Linked DNA regions of Homo sapiens: region 1 is linked to region 2. Evidence: promoter capture Hi-C in human tissues and cell types (Jung and others, 2019). All regions are on one chromosome and are shown on one strand. The core of a region is centred on a gene start or on the middle of the fragment in contact, and the rest is flanking DNA. Distances in the headings are between cores, read along the strand shown.

Region 1 (6,632 bases), core at 4,056-6,555, 60 kb before region 2:
ACTTATTATAAGGTAGCCTGGTATATTTGAGAGGCAGTTTATATTTGAGGTGTATTTGTGCCTGGTATATTTGAAGCAGTTGAAACAGGACACTTGGGATCCAGTTTTGCTCTGGTACCTGTGAGCTGTGTAACAGGCACACACTTACCTGTTCGAGTTTTGGTTGCCTCATTTATAAAATGGGATTGCGACACTGCATCATTCAGATCCCTGTGAGAAGCAAGTGAAAGGACCTGAATGAAGGGTGCTGTACAAGGCCTGGTGCAGAATAAACAAGCAAGGAAAGGCACCTGCTGCTTCCACTACTGGGAACAGAAAGAGAGCTTGCTGGAGACTTCGAGTGAGTCATTGAACCTCTCTGGGCCATTATTCAGCTCTGAAATTGTGAGACTTACAGTCTCACAGTCAAGCTTCTACAGGTCCTGGTTCCCCCTGGCCCTTATCTGTTTTGTTTTTTAACCCTTTCACCAGGAGGCCCATCCCTCTACCTAGTCTCCCTTTGAAATGTTCCAACAGAAAGGCACAGATCAGCTTAGGCTGGTACTAGGCATGGGAGGACTTTCCCTGTGGAACTCTACATTCAAAAATGTTCTCATTCCAGGCTCCAGCCACTGGAAGTGAAAACTCTGCTGTTAACCAGAAACCTACAAACCTTCCCAAGGTGGAAGAATCCCAGCAGAAAAACACCCCCCCAACAGACTCCCCCTCCAAAGCTGGGCCAAGAGGATCTGTCCAATATCTTCCTGACTTGGATGATAAAAATTCCCAGGAAAAGGGCCCTCAGGAGGCCTTTCCTGTGCATCTGGACCTAACCACGAATCCCCAGGGAGAAACCCTGGATATTTCCTTCCTCTTCCTGGAGCCTATGGAGGAGAAGCTGGTGGTCCTGCCTTTCCCCAAAGAAAAAGCACGCACTGCTGAGTGCCCAGGGCCAGCCCAGAATGCCAGCCCTCTTGTCCTTCCGCCATGAGAATCACACAGAGTCTTCTGTAGGGGTATGGTGCGCCGCATGACATGGGAGGCGATGGGGACGATGGACAGAGACAGAGCGTGCACACGTAGAGTGGCTAGTGAAGGACGCCTTTTTGACTCTTCTTGGTCTCAGCATGTTGACTGGGATTGGAAATAATGAGACTGAGCCCTCGGCTTGGGCTGCACTCTACCCTGTACACTGCCTTGTACCCTGAGCTGCATCACCTCCTAAACTGAGCAGTCTCATACCATGGAGAGATGCCTCTCTTATGTCTTCAGCCACTCACTTATAAAGATACTTATCTTTTCAGCAGTATATATGTGCTGAAATCTCAGCATGAAAGCATTGCATGAGTAAAGATACTTTCCCTAACACCGGGAGGCGTGAGCAACTAATGCCCAGCACAGTTTCAGTCCCTAAATTCCCTTTAATTCCAGGACAGGTATTAGCTGCGTAGGGCCCATACCATTTCCAACCCTCTACCTCTTTTCATCTGTCTGGAAGTCTCCAGGTCTCAACAGTGGGGTAATTCACTTAGAGCTGGAGGCACATAGAAGGGAAGTGCACATGTGGCCTGTGCTAGACACTGTGGGAGCAGCAGACCGTGACAGTTCTCATCACTGTTACAATTTCTCTAGGACAGTTAGAGGAGGGCTCATCACAGCATTCAATTACAGTCTACGTTTTCCTTCTTTCAAACACTGCAGGGCCAATTTCCCCTCATTCAGTGATACCTATGTGCACACGCACACATGCACAGCAGATAAGACTTTGGACATTTTGACAGAGAATTTGCAGATGCAGCTATTGTCCTCTATCTTGGTGGCTGTTAGAAGAGGCACACAGGCCTCAGCATAATTTGCATAAGAGACGTAGACAATGTTCACACTCTGTTCCTCTTATCTGCTTCTCATAAGAAGGAAGTGATTATGTGGGGGTGTCATGTGGGGTCTTACACCGTGTTGGTCAGGGTCTGAAAGAAGCAGAATTGTACTCAGGTGGCTCAACTAAAAAGACTTCAGTTGGCTCAGCGTGCTGGCTCATGCTTGTAATCCCAGCACTTTGGGAGGCTGAGGCGGCCAGATCACCGGAGGTCAGGAGTTTGAGACCAGCCTGGCCAACATGGTGAAACCCTGTCTCTACTAAAAATACAAAAATTAGCCGGGCATGGTGGTACATATCTGTAATCCCAGTCACTCGGGAGGCTGAGGCAGGAGAATCGCTTGAACCTGGGAGGTGGAGGCTGCAGTGAGCTGAGATAATGCCACTGTTCGCCACCAGCATGGGTAACAGAGCTAGACGCCATCTCAAAAAAAGAAAAAGACTTCAGTGAAGGGACCTTTAGTGAAGGCTTGTTGCCCAGGCTAAGGGAAGGCCAAGGGATGCTGAGGCACCTGGACAGCCTTTGCCACCCGAGGCTGAGCAGGAGCAGGAGTGGCTAGCTTCCCCGCTCTGTTGGAACTATCCTGTGGAGAAGCCGCCCTGCAGAAGCCGCCCTGGTGGAGGGATGCAGCCCCTGCAGAACCCGGTGCTGGAACGAGAAGGAGCAGGGAATAAGCACCCTCCCCTCTCCCTCCCTTCCTGTTTCCTTCCAATCTCCTCCTCCCAATGGCTCTTTGAACTCAATGGTAAACTAGCCAGCAGGGAGAGCCTGGGTTATTCAATTCCCTGGAGCCAGCCTGGGAGACAAGACCAGGCAGAGAAAATCAAAGGATGGGCCTGAGGCAAACAGAGAGAAACCATTAGGAGCCTTAGCTGGGGTTTCCCAAGGGGTGTTCTATAAGGCCCTTCTCTACTGGTAAAAGGATGGGGAAGGGCCTCAGACTTTGTTTCTCCTTCTATCTACCACCTCCTTTGTCTTTCCATGGCTTAATTCGTGAAAAACTAGATTGTTCCCATGCTTGCCACTTCCCCACCACCTCTTCATTCCTTAGGTCACAGTAATGTGAATCTATCTCTTTTCCCATAACCCACTGACTTGGTGTTCCCTAACAATCTTTTATTTTAAATTAAAAAAAAAATTTCTGTTCACTTTTACTTACACTTTCAAGCATCTGGCAATGCTGACTTTGCTTGCTCTTCAGATTTTTTCAAGGAGATTGTGTCCCACAGCCTCCAGGTTTTTCTTCTAGCTTTCTGACCACTCCCCCTCATATCCCACCTTGGGCTCCTCTTCTCTGGCTCATCTCTTAGATGCTGTTTCTCTGGCTTTCAGTCCTTGATCTTTTTTTCTTACTCTGCAGACTCAGTGCAGACAAGCTAATCTGCATCCTTGTCAATAGTTGCAAAATGCTGCATTTATTACTGATCTGAGGCTGTTGTGTTCAAGTCATCAGTAGTTTGCAAATTGCTAACACTAATCTTCTACGACAAAATTTCAGGAGCTGAGTATTTCTAGTTATACAATATTAAGAGTTACCTCAGCTGAATGTTTAAAAAGAACATATTCAACAATAGGAAAATGAGCAACCCAATTTAAAAATGGGCAAAACATTTAAAAAAAATGAGATCGTGTCTTTCGCAGGAACATGGATGGAGCTGAAGGTTATTATCCTTAGCAAACTAATGCAGGAACAGAAAACCAAATATCGCATGCTCTCACTTATAAGTGGGAGCTAAATAATGAGAACACATGGACACATAGAGGGAAACAACACACACTGGGACCTACTCAAGGGTGGAGGGTGGGAGGAGGGAGAGGGTCAGAAGAAAATGACTGTTTGGTAGTAGGCTTAGTACTTGCCTGACAAATAATCTGTACTACAAACCCCTGCGACATGAGTTTACCTATATAACAAATGTGCACATGTACCCATTAACTTAAGATAGAAGTTAAAAAAAATAAAAATAAAAATGGGCAAAAGATTTAAACCTCACCAAAAAAAAAAAAAAGGTAAGTGAACATCTGAAATTCTGAACTTCAGTGAACTTCATATGTCATCAAAGAAATGCAAATTATAACAACGAGATATCACTACATATCCGTCAGAATGGCCAAAATCCAGAACACTGACAATACTAAATGGTAGCAAGGATATGGAGCAAAAGGAACTTCTCATTCATTGCTGCTGGGAATGCAAATGGTACAGCCACTTTGGAAGACAGTTTGGCAGTTACTTTCAAAACTTAACATACTCTTATCATATGCTCCAGTAGTCACACTCCTTGGTATTTACCCAAATGATCTGAAAACTTATGTCCATAGAAAAACCCACACATGAATATTCACAGCACATCTGCTCATAATTGCTAAAATTTGGAAGCAACAAACTGTCCTTCACCAGGTGAGTGGATAAGTAAATCCTGACAATGGAATATTATTTGGCACGAAAAAGGAATATGAATATCGAGCCACAAAAAGACATGGAGGAAACTTAAATACATATTACTGAGTGAAAGAAACCAATCTGAAAAGATTAACTACTGTATGGTTCCAACTATATGACATTTGGAAAAGGCAAAATTATGAAGACAGTAAAAAGATCACTGGTTGCCAGTGGTTAGCAAGGAGACAGGGATGGACTATGTGGAGCACAGAGGATTTTTAGTCAGTGAAACTATTCTGTATGCTACTACAATGGTGGATACATTTCATTATACATTTGTCAAAACCCATAGATGTACAACATCAAGGATGCATGCTGATGTAAGCCATGGACTTTAGGTTATAACTATGTGTCAGTGTAAGTTCATCGGTTGTAACAAATGTGCTGCTAGTGTTCAGAGGTTTATAGCAGGGGAGGCTGTGAGCGTGAGGGGCAGATGTAGGGACTACATAGGAACTCTATACTCGCCACTCAGCTGTACTGTCAACCTAAAACTGCTCTAAAAATTAAAGCCCATTTTTAAAGTAAATTAACAAAATGGATACATTAAGCCTGATAAAAACTGCATTTTCTTTAAAAAGTGACTCCTATTACAAAAAAATTAAATGTCATAAAATTCTGTCAACCAGTCTAGTGATTCTCAAAGACATAGTCAGAGATTTACAAAGAGGTCCACTGTAGCATTACTTATAAGAACAAATAATTGGAAACAATATACATGGCCAAAAATTGGGGAATGTTGAATACATTAACACGTACATAACATCCAATATTATGTAACCTCAAAAATAATCTTTCTGAAGAATATTTAATGATCTGAGAAAGTCCTCATGGTATAACCTTAAGGGAAAATACAATATTTAAGCCATATATAACAAGGGATTTTTAAAAGTCCTTCTCTTGGGAAAGAGTTTGGGAGGTAAAGAATGGAGGAAAGAGACTTAATTTTTATTTTACAATATTCTAAAATATTGTTTGCTTTTTTACTTTGTGCAGGGATTGTGTTTATGACTAAAAACTGTATACTTAAAATAACAAAATTTTAAAATCCTATAAAAACACAAAAACATTTATAAAGCTTATATGGTTTCTATTAATACCTGAAAAAAATAGAGGTTATAAGTAAATACATGCTCAACTACAGTGGAGGGAAAGAAACACCTGTATGTACAGAATAATTCTAATGATGCAAAACATATATATTACATATATTCAAATAGCAAAAAGTGTATGAAGCAATTATGCATTATAAATAGTTGGTTTTCCTTATGGTTGTAGAATTAGAGGTGAATTTTCTTTATGCTTTTCGTATTTTCCATATTTTTTGCAAAAAGCATGTGTTCTATTATGAGTCAAAAAGGTTTAAAGAATAAAAATTCTGTTAGCTAACTCTTTTTTCTGATACAATGGTCAGGACACACAGAAATAACCTAAATGCAGAATGAAAATGTGAAGACGGCAGGGCGCAGTGGCTCATTCCTATAATCACACCACTATGGGAGGCTGAGGCGGGTGGATCACCTGAGGTCAGGGGTTCGAGATCAGCCTGACCAATATGGTGAAACCTTGTCTCTACTAAAAGTACAAATTTTAGCCAGGCGTGGTGGTGGGCACCTGTAGTCCCAGTACTCAGGAGGATGAGACAGAAGAATTGCTTGAAACTGGGAGGTGGAGGTTACAGCAGTGAGCTGAGATGGCACCACTATACAACAACCTAGGCAACAGAGCAGGTGAGACTTTGTCTCAAAAAAAAAAAAAGAAAGAAAAGAAAAGGTAAAGATGAAGATTCTACCTGCCCAGTCTGCCCAGATAGTGTCAGGCCTCTGAGCCTAAGCTAAGCCATCATATCCCCTGAGACCTGCACATACACATCCAGATGGCCGGTTCCTGGCTTAACTGATGACATTCCACTACAAAAGAAATGAAAATGGCCTGTTCCTGCCTTAACTGATAGCATTATCTTGTGAAATTCCTTCTCCTGGCTCATCTTGGCTCAAAAGCTCCCCTACTGAGCACCTTGTGACCCCTACTCCTGCCTGCCAGAGAACAACCCCTCTTTTTCCTTTACGTACCTAAATCCTATAAAATGGCCCCACCCCATCTCCCTTCACTGACTCTTTTTGGACTCAGCCCACCTGCACCCAGGTGATTAAAAGATTTATTGCTCAGACAAAGCCTGTTTGGTGGTCTCTTCACACGGACACACATGAAATTTGCTGCCGTGACTCGGATCAGGGGAACTCCCTTGGGAGATCAATCCCTAGTCCTCCTGTTCTTTGCTCCGTGAGAAAGATCCACCTACGATCTCAGGTCCTCAGGCTGACCAGCCCAAG
Region 2 (7,341 bases), core at 4,232-6,731:
TATAAGAAATAATCACCACGCCCTGCACATATATTAATATTACCTCATTCACTTCTCAAAAACACCGTTAAAATATTATGATTTTCTACCATTTACAGGTGAGAAACCTAAGGCTCAGAAAGGTTATGCGACCCTGCCTTGCTTGGGATCACATAGGTAAGTGGCAGAGCTAGATTGGAATCCAGGTTGGACTTACTGCCGAGCTCATGTTCCTGCCCCACCCCTACAAGGGCCCCATTTGCTCCCACTGACCCTTCTCCAGGGACTCCAGGGAGAATCAACTGGCAAGTTAGACATCCTAACACAACAAAACTTCAAACTTTATGTTTTCAAACCTTGAAGATACACATTTGCTAAGGACAAACCCATGTCTGTAACCTACCTTTAAAACTCCTCTCTCTGAATAGTCTAAATTTATTTAAAAGTTTGCTTAGGTTTTGTGAATGCAAACCACGATATCCACCGTAGGGGCAAAAAGGTGTGATGCCTTTCCTTACAGATGCGACCCTTATAAGGGTCTTACAACAACAAAAAGGGTTAACAAGGGAAAGCATAGCATATTCATTTAATCCAAGTTTTTATAGCATGGAAGTCTTCAGGATGAAGACCCAAACACACAAGTGACACTGTTCGTTGTTAGGCTTAAGTCGACGAAGACTGTACAACAGTATAAAATGTGATTGGATTAATAGGGAAAGATCCCATAGTAATAGACGGTCAGGGGAAACCCAGCGAGGCCTTCAGTTTGAGTTCTCCATGGCCCCTCTGTGTGGCAATTCTTGCTTCTGGGTATAGGGCCCAATCCCTCTGGAATATGGATCTGAGGACCTATTATCAGACAGGGTATATCCTGGAATTTCTTTATGGCCAGCTCCTACAAAGAAAGGCCCAGGGGGGAAGGTAGAGCTATATTTTAGGTTTTATGGCTGTTTGGGGGCAGAGGTATTTCACTTTCTGGGACCTGCCTGGGGGAAGAAGAATTCTAGTTTCTATGGTGCCTTAAGGGAGAAAGGAGAGCAGGAGAAAGTAGAGTGGGAGAAGGTCAAACAGATCTCGCTTCTGAGGCCCTTTTGGTTTCCTTCAGTTCAAAGGACTCAGCATATCAAGGCACCACAGTTTGGAACATCGTATTCTGGGTCCCAACAATATTCAAGCGAACACAGGAGTGGTAAACGTACTGGGGCTACGTAATGAAGGCGGATCTATTAGGATTGCATGGGAAGAGGCTTCAGCTGTGTAGTGATGCATGGGTAGGATTTGCATAGGAAGAGGGTCTGGGTAAAGGCATTCCTGGTGAATTCCTGGCACCACTACTTCTAGGTGGGTAGGGAATCAGAAAGAAGGGTGTTGGGGAATAATTGAATATAAGCAGGGGGTTCCAGAAGTTCTGTGTGGGCTCTGGAGCTGTCATTATTTGGGAGATGAGCCTGTGGGCTCATCTTAAGGCAAAACAAGGCTACTGTTTTCACTTCGATTCTTTGCTTACCTGGAGTGGATTTGAGTGGCTGAAGACATTATGGAAAGACATGAAGCCTCCCTTCTCTCTCCCAAAATAAACTACTCCCTCTTTGGTGAAACAACTGAAATCAGGAGGACAGACCAGGAGCACTACAGAGTACCACAGGAGTGCTACAAAGCAATGTACCCTTCTTAATGTATCAGAGAGGGAGCACTGCAAGTTGTAGAGAACAGGAGTGCTGGAACTTAGAATTCCATTCAGTGACCTTACTCCCATTCCAGACTCTGCTCCAGGTTATAGCACAGCGTGCTTCAGCACAGAGCTACCTCTGAGAGCTAGCATACAGAGTGGGTGAGTGGGAGAGGCCCCAGGGTGCCTGGGGAATCTCAGGCAGGCGACAGGGACATGAACTTGGAAGTTATTTTATGTATGCGGGAATGAGGGCCAGACCCAGGCAGTGGGAATTAGGGCAATGAGAATGAGGAATAGACATGAGAGATACTGCCAGTTGGTTGATGTTTGTCATGCATTTAGAAAATGCAAAGTTAGGCCGGGCATAGTGGCTCATGCCTGTAATCCCAGCACTTTGGGAGGCCGAGGTGGGTGGATCGCCTGAGGTCAGGAGTTTGAGACCATCCAGGGCAACATGGTGAAACCCCGTCTCTACTAAAAATACAAAAAATTAACCAGGTGTGGTGGCACGCACCTGTAGTCCCAAATACTTGGGAGGCTGAGGCAGAAGAATCGCTTGAGCCCCAGAGGTGAAGGTTGCAATGAGCCGAGATTATGCCACTGCACTCCAGCTTGGGCCACAGAGTGAGATTCCATCAAAACAGAAAGAAAAGAAAAAGAAAAAGAAAGAAAGAAAAGAAGGAAAGAAACAAAGAAAGAAAGAAAGAAAGAAAGAAAGAAAGAAAGAAAGAAAGAAAATGCAAAATTAAATAGACTGCAATGTATACAAGCCATGAAGTGAATAGAAGGCTAGAAGGAGAAGCATATAAAATGAATGACAGTGGCACCTCTGAGAAGAAGCTGGGGTGCAGGATGGGTGATTTTTCACACTCTTCTTATATTCATATCATTTGAACGTTTTCAGTGAAATGATATTCACCTTATCACTTAGGTGGTACATTTTGTGAAAGGCAGAATGAAGAATGGTGTTGAAGCACAGGCAACTCAGGTCTCCAGGGCAGAAGGGTTGGCCTAAGGGCAAGGCAGCAATGGTATGGTTTTCCTCACCACCACCCATGGGGAAGCCCAGTGCTGGTGCCTGCTCATGTCTAGCAGACAGCCATCCTCCTGTCTTAGTTCACCTTTCACAGCTGGGTTTAGGGGCCTCTAGAGCACAGGAGTGCCAGCCAGTTGTAGCCCTTGTACTTAGGGTAGAGCCAGCAGACACTTACCTTGACAGGATCTGTGAAAACCCATCTTTATGCTGTATAGTTCCCTTTTTTTTCAACACTTTCCTCCATGGCAGAAAACCACAACAACTTGAAATGAGACACTTCACCACCTGTGCTTTCTTCAAAGTGTACACGAGGACAGATTGTTGAGCCACTGGTGGGGCGATCTGATCATATTACTCTGATTTTTCTAAAGCTCTTCTTCCTTTGCTGAAAGACTGGAAGCTCACAACTCTGGCTGGGCATCTTCAGTTCCCCATATGCATACACACACACAGACACACACACACACACACACACACACACACACGCTTCTCTCCTCTTTGAACGTCTTTGGATTCTGCAGAGCAGATTTGTCCTATGATGTCATAAACTGTGAAGTCTTCAACCCTCAGGTTGGTTTTCTAAGTAGGCTTTGTTATGAGCAGTACCAGACTAAGTGGTATTTGCACACACATAGTGTCTTTGGTTCTTATGGCTCTGGGTGTGTGTGTGTCTGTGTGTGTGAGGGAGGAGTAGGGGAAGAGATACAACACTCCTGGGGAAGGGAGTGCAATTGCTAGTATCACATAAAAAGTATGAAAACTTTTCCAAGAATTAGGGAGGAATACGATTTGGCAGAAAAGTAAAGTCATATCCAATTCAATCAACCTTGAATGAATTTAAAGGTGCTCCTTGTAGTTAGGACGCCAGTGCTGAGGCTCAGTCATTGCTAGCTTTTAATATTAGACATAGCATCTGGGTGCGGTGGCTCACACCTGTAATTCTAGCACTTTGGGAAGCCAAGGCAGGCAGATCACTAGAGGTCAGGAGTTCGAGACCAGCCTGGCCAACATGGTGAAACCTCGTCTCTTCTAAAAATACAAAAATTAGCTGGGCGTAGTGGCAGTCCCCTGTAATCCCAGCTACTTGGGAGGCTGAGGCAGAAGAATTGCTTTAACCCGGGAAGTGCAATGAGCTGAGATTGCACCACTGCACCGCAGCCTAGGCCACAGAGCAAGACTCTGTCTCAAAAAAAAAAAAAAAAAAAAAAATTAGGCATAGAATCTAAGAATAAATTTAACCTGAAATTTATAAGTGTATATAAAATAAGATGCAAAACCATGTTTTACATCTCTCCAAGAAATCTTTGTTCTATTTTATAGGTGAGCACAAAGATTTTCTTTACATAATTTTTTATCAGAAACAAAAAGATTGAAAATAGTCCAAACATCTATGTCCTGTGTCAAAAAAAAAAAAAGGAAAAAAGAAAGAAAAAGAAAAATTAGGTTTGTCCTCATGAACATGGCTCTACAGACTTTTTAAAAAAATAAAGTCTGAACAAGGAGCAGAGTGAATAGGCCGAATTTTTTTTTTTTTTTTTTTTTTTTGGACAGAGTTTTGCTCTTGTTGCCCAGGCTGGATTGCAATGGCGCAATCTCAGCTCACTGCAATCTCCACCTCCCGGGTTCCAGCAATTCTCCTGCCTCAGCTTCCCGAGCAACTAGGATTACAGGCATGTGCCACTACGCCCGGCTAATTTTGTATTTTTAGTGGAGATGGGGTTTCTCCATGTTGGTCAGGCTGGTCTCGAACTCCCGACCTCAGGTGATCCACCCATCTCAGCCTCCCAAAGTGCTGGGATTACAGGTGTGAGCCACCGTGCCTGGCCAATTTTTACTGGAGTAAGGATGTTGATACCATCAAGCCTCACACTTCTGCTGAGATTATCAACTGTAGTTTTCCAATGTTGGTCTACAGGTGGGGACCATTCTGTAATATAGTTTCCCCACTCTGTGTTGATGTGAGGAAAATAAGAATAATAAAGTTTTATTGCTGGCTTTGAGGGAGAAGGGTTCTATGACCCGCCTTGGGGAAGAGAAATTCTAGCTTCTGTGGCCTGCCTTGAGAGAAGTGGAGCAGGAGAAAGACGGGCAGGAGAAAGCAAGAAAGAGACTTTGCTTTTGCAGCCTTTTTAATGTCTTTCAGTTCAAAGTACTCGGCATGCCAAAGAGCCATATTTGGGGCTATCTTTTTCTGTGCCAAACCAACAACACCAAACCAGAAAGAAGCAAGCATAGGGAATCCAGGGCTTCACTCAACCCATCCCTTCCTATGCTTTTCCTCTATCTCCACCCTGGGAGCAATTTTCTTTTACAGAACTAATGCAACTGAGCAGAGAAAGGCTGGCCTGTCCAGAGAGCAGATAGGACGCCCATATTTTATTTTCAGTTGTGCCAATGTCCTGCATGGGACTCCTGGAACTCACTGGATGCCCCTGTGCATGAGCTTCTTAGGCATGTAATAGAATTAACAGCAGTCTGCTTCTATGCAGGTAGGTATCCTGCAAAGAAACTTTGTATGAAATGTGTCTGCACATTGTACTCATTCTTGCATTGTTTACCCATGTAGTGACCTTCAAAAATGGCTTTGCAAAAGTCACAGGGGAATAACCGAGTTAGTAGGCACTTGTTTCCCCTCCTTCATCAGATTCTGCTCTGATTTGCTACATAAAGTTGTATAATCACCTGGAAATATGCACTGTGCTGCCACGTGATTTTCAAATGCAAATGAGCAGGTTAACAACCCCAGTGTTGCAATGTTCTAGCTGTAAATATGTTTGGATAACCCAGCAGAGCCATTTAACCTTTGGGAACAAGGCAACTAGCGTCTGGCAGCAGGAATCCAACCAGTGCCCTGAGTTCTGAGGCAGAGAGGAGGACAGAAGAAACAAGAGGCTGGAGATTGTCAAATTCAGTATCCCAGTTGGCTCTTGATTCTTGGTGAAACCATCCCTCAGCTCCTAGAGGGAGATTGTTAGATCATGAAACTAATTACCATCCTTTTCCTCTGCTCCAGGCTGCTACTAAGTTTAACCCAGGAATCACAGTCCGAGGAAATTGACTGCAATGACAAGGATTTATTTAAAGCTGTGGATGCTGCTCTGAAGAAATATAACAGTCAAAACCAAAGTAACAACCAGTTTGTATTGTACCGCATAACTGAAGCCACTAAGACGGTGAGTGAATTGTGTTTAACCTTGAAGTCACTTGGGATTTGTACTATCACTAGGAGTCCAGGCCTCACACACACACACACATACCACCACCAGCACCCACCACCACCACCCACCACCCACCACCATCACCCACCACCACCACCACAACCACCACCACCACCCACCACCACCACCACCATCCACCACCACCCACCACCCACCACCACCCACCACCATCACCCACCACCCACCACCCACCACCACCCACCATCATCACCCACCACCACCCACCACCATCACCCACCACCCACCACCACTCGCCACCATCACCCACCACCATCACCCACCACCCACCACCCACCACCACCAACCACCACCATCCACCACCACCAACCACCACCCACCACCACTACCACCCCTCACCACCCACCACCACCGCCACCCACCACCCACCACCATCACCCACCACCACCACCATCCACCACCACCACCCAACCACCACCACCCACCACCCACCACCATCACCCACCACCCACCACCACCCACCACCCACCACCCACCACCATCACCCACCACCTACCACCCACCACCCACCACCACCACCACCCACCACCACCCACCACCCACCACCACCACCACCCACCACCACCCACCACCACTACCACCCCTCACCACCCACCACCACCGCCACCCACCACCCACCACCATCACGCACTACCAAATATGTGATCATCAAAGGTAGAAGCTTACAACTTGTGGAAAGACAGATACCACTCTCTGGCCTGGGGTGGGAGGACAGAGTATGACTCGTCCTCAGGCAGGTTGGCTTCCTGGATGATCAGAGAAGTAGAATCTAGGGTGAAATGAAACAAAAGTAGATGGAGAAATCTCAACAGGACCAAGTAGAGAGGGAGAATTTAGGAATTTAGTTAGACTGCAGCAAAAGAATTCACTGGGTCTCTGGCCCTAGGCTAAAAACTATAGAACTCCAAACCTTTAATGGGAGGGGGTACTTCATGGGGCATGTCTAAGAGGAGTGAGGAATGAGGTTAATGTGATTCTACGGAATTAGACAGAAGTCTGTATGGCTGAATGTACTGGGTTTAACAGCAACGTTTTAGTTAGTTTTTGATATTATTGCAATGATGCACTCCAGCAGGAGACAAATCCTGGCAGGATGCATGGTTCAAAGAAATACCAATCTTTCAAGAGTATGTTTAAACAAATTTCACTATAAAAGACTATATCTCTGGGAATGTCAAGCAATTGGTTACTTTAGCAGAAAAAAAAAAACTAGCCATGTGACAACATGGGGATAAAGGAAAATAAACACAGTGGACATGTTATTTTTTCTGAAAGTAAAATCGAGCCATTTTCTTTCATAATCTAGTACAGTCATGTGAGAAATTCTGCTTCATGGTGATCTCAAGCAACAGTTTATTGGTGGTGTGGTACCCAATAGATTGTGGGTATGGTTGTAAATATACTAAAAAACATTAAAT

Evidence for each region. Contacts are between HindIII fragments. The study calls those that stand out against the background at their distance.
Region 1: a fragment that was not itself captured here is called in contact with the fragment with the promoter of KNG1 in region 2 in 1 of the 25 tissues and cell types used here (neural progenitor cells).

Annotation. Positions count from the first base shown.
Region 1 is chr3:186,651,662-186,658,293 of GRCh38, forward strand. All of the region lies in intron 1 of HRG-AS1 (HRG and FETUB antisense RNA 1), which reads right to left. It overlaps FETUB (fetuin B), which reads left to right. Exons shown (of 7, transcript NM_014375.3): 7 at 602-1,480. The coding sequence ends at 970. Among named protein-coding and RNA genes, the nearest start is that of HRG-AS1, 11 kb to the right of the region's middle. RefSeq lists an enhancer at 5,966-6,485. The HindIII fragment of the contact is 4,825 bases long and covers 2,894-6,632 here.
Region 2 is chr3:186,711,878-186,719,218 of GRCh38, forward strand. It overlaps KNG1 (kininogen 1), which reads left to right and starts at 5,482. Exons shown (of 10, transcript NM_001102416.3): 1 at 5,482-5,860. The coding sequence starts at 5,666. The HindIII fragment of the contact is 15,967 bases long and covers 1-7,341 here.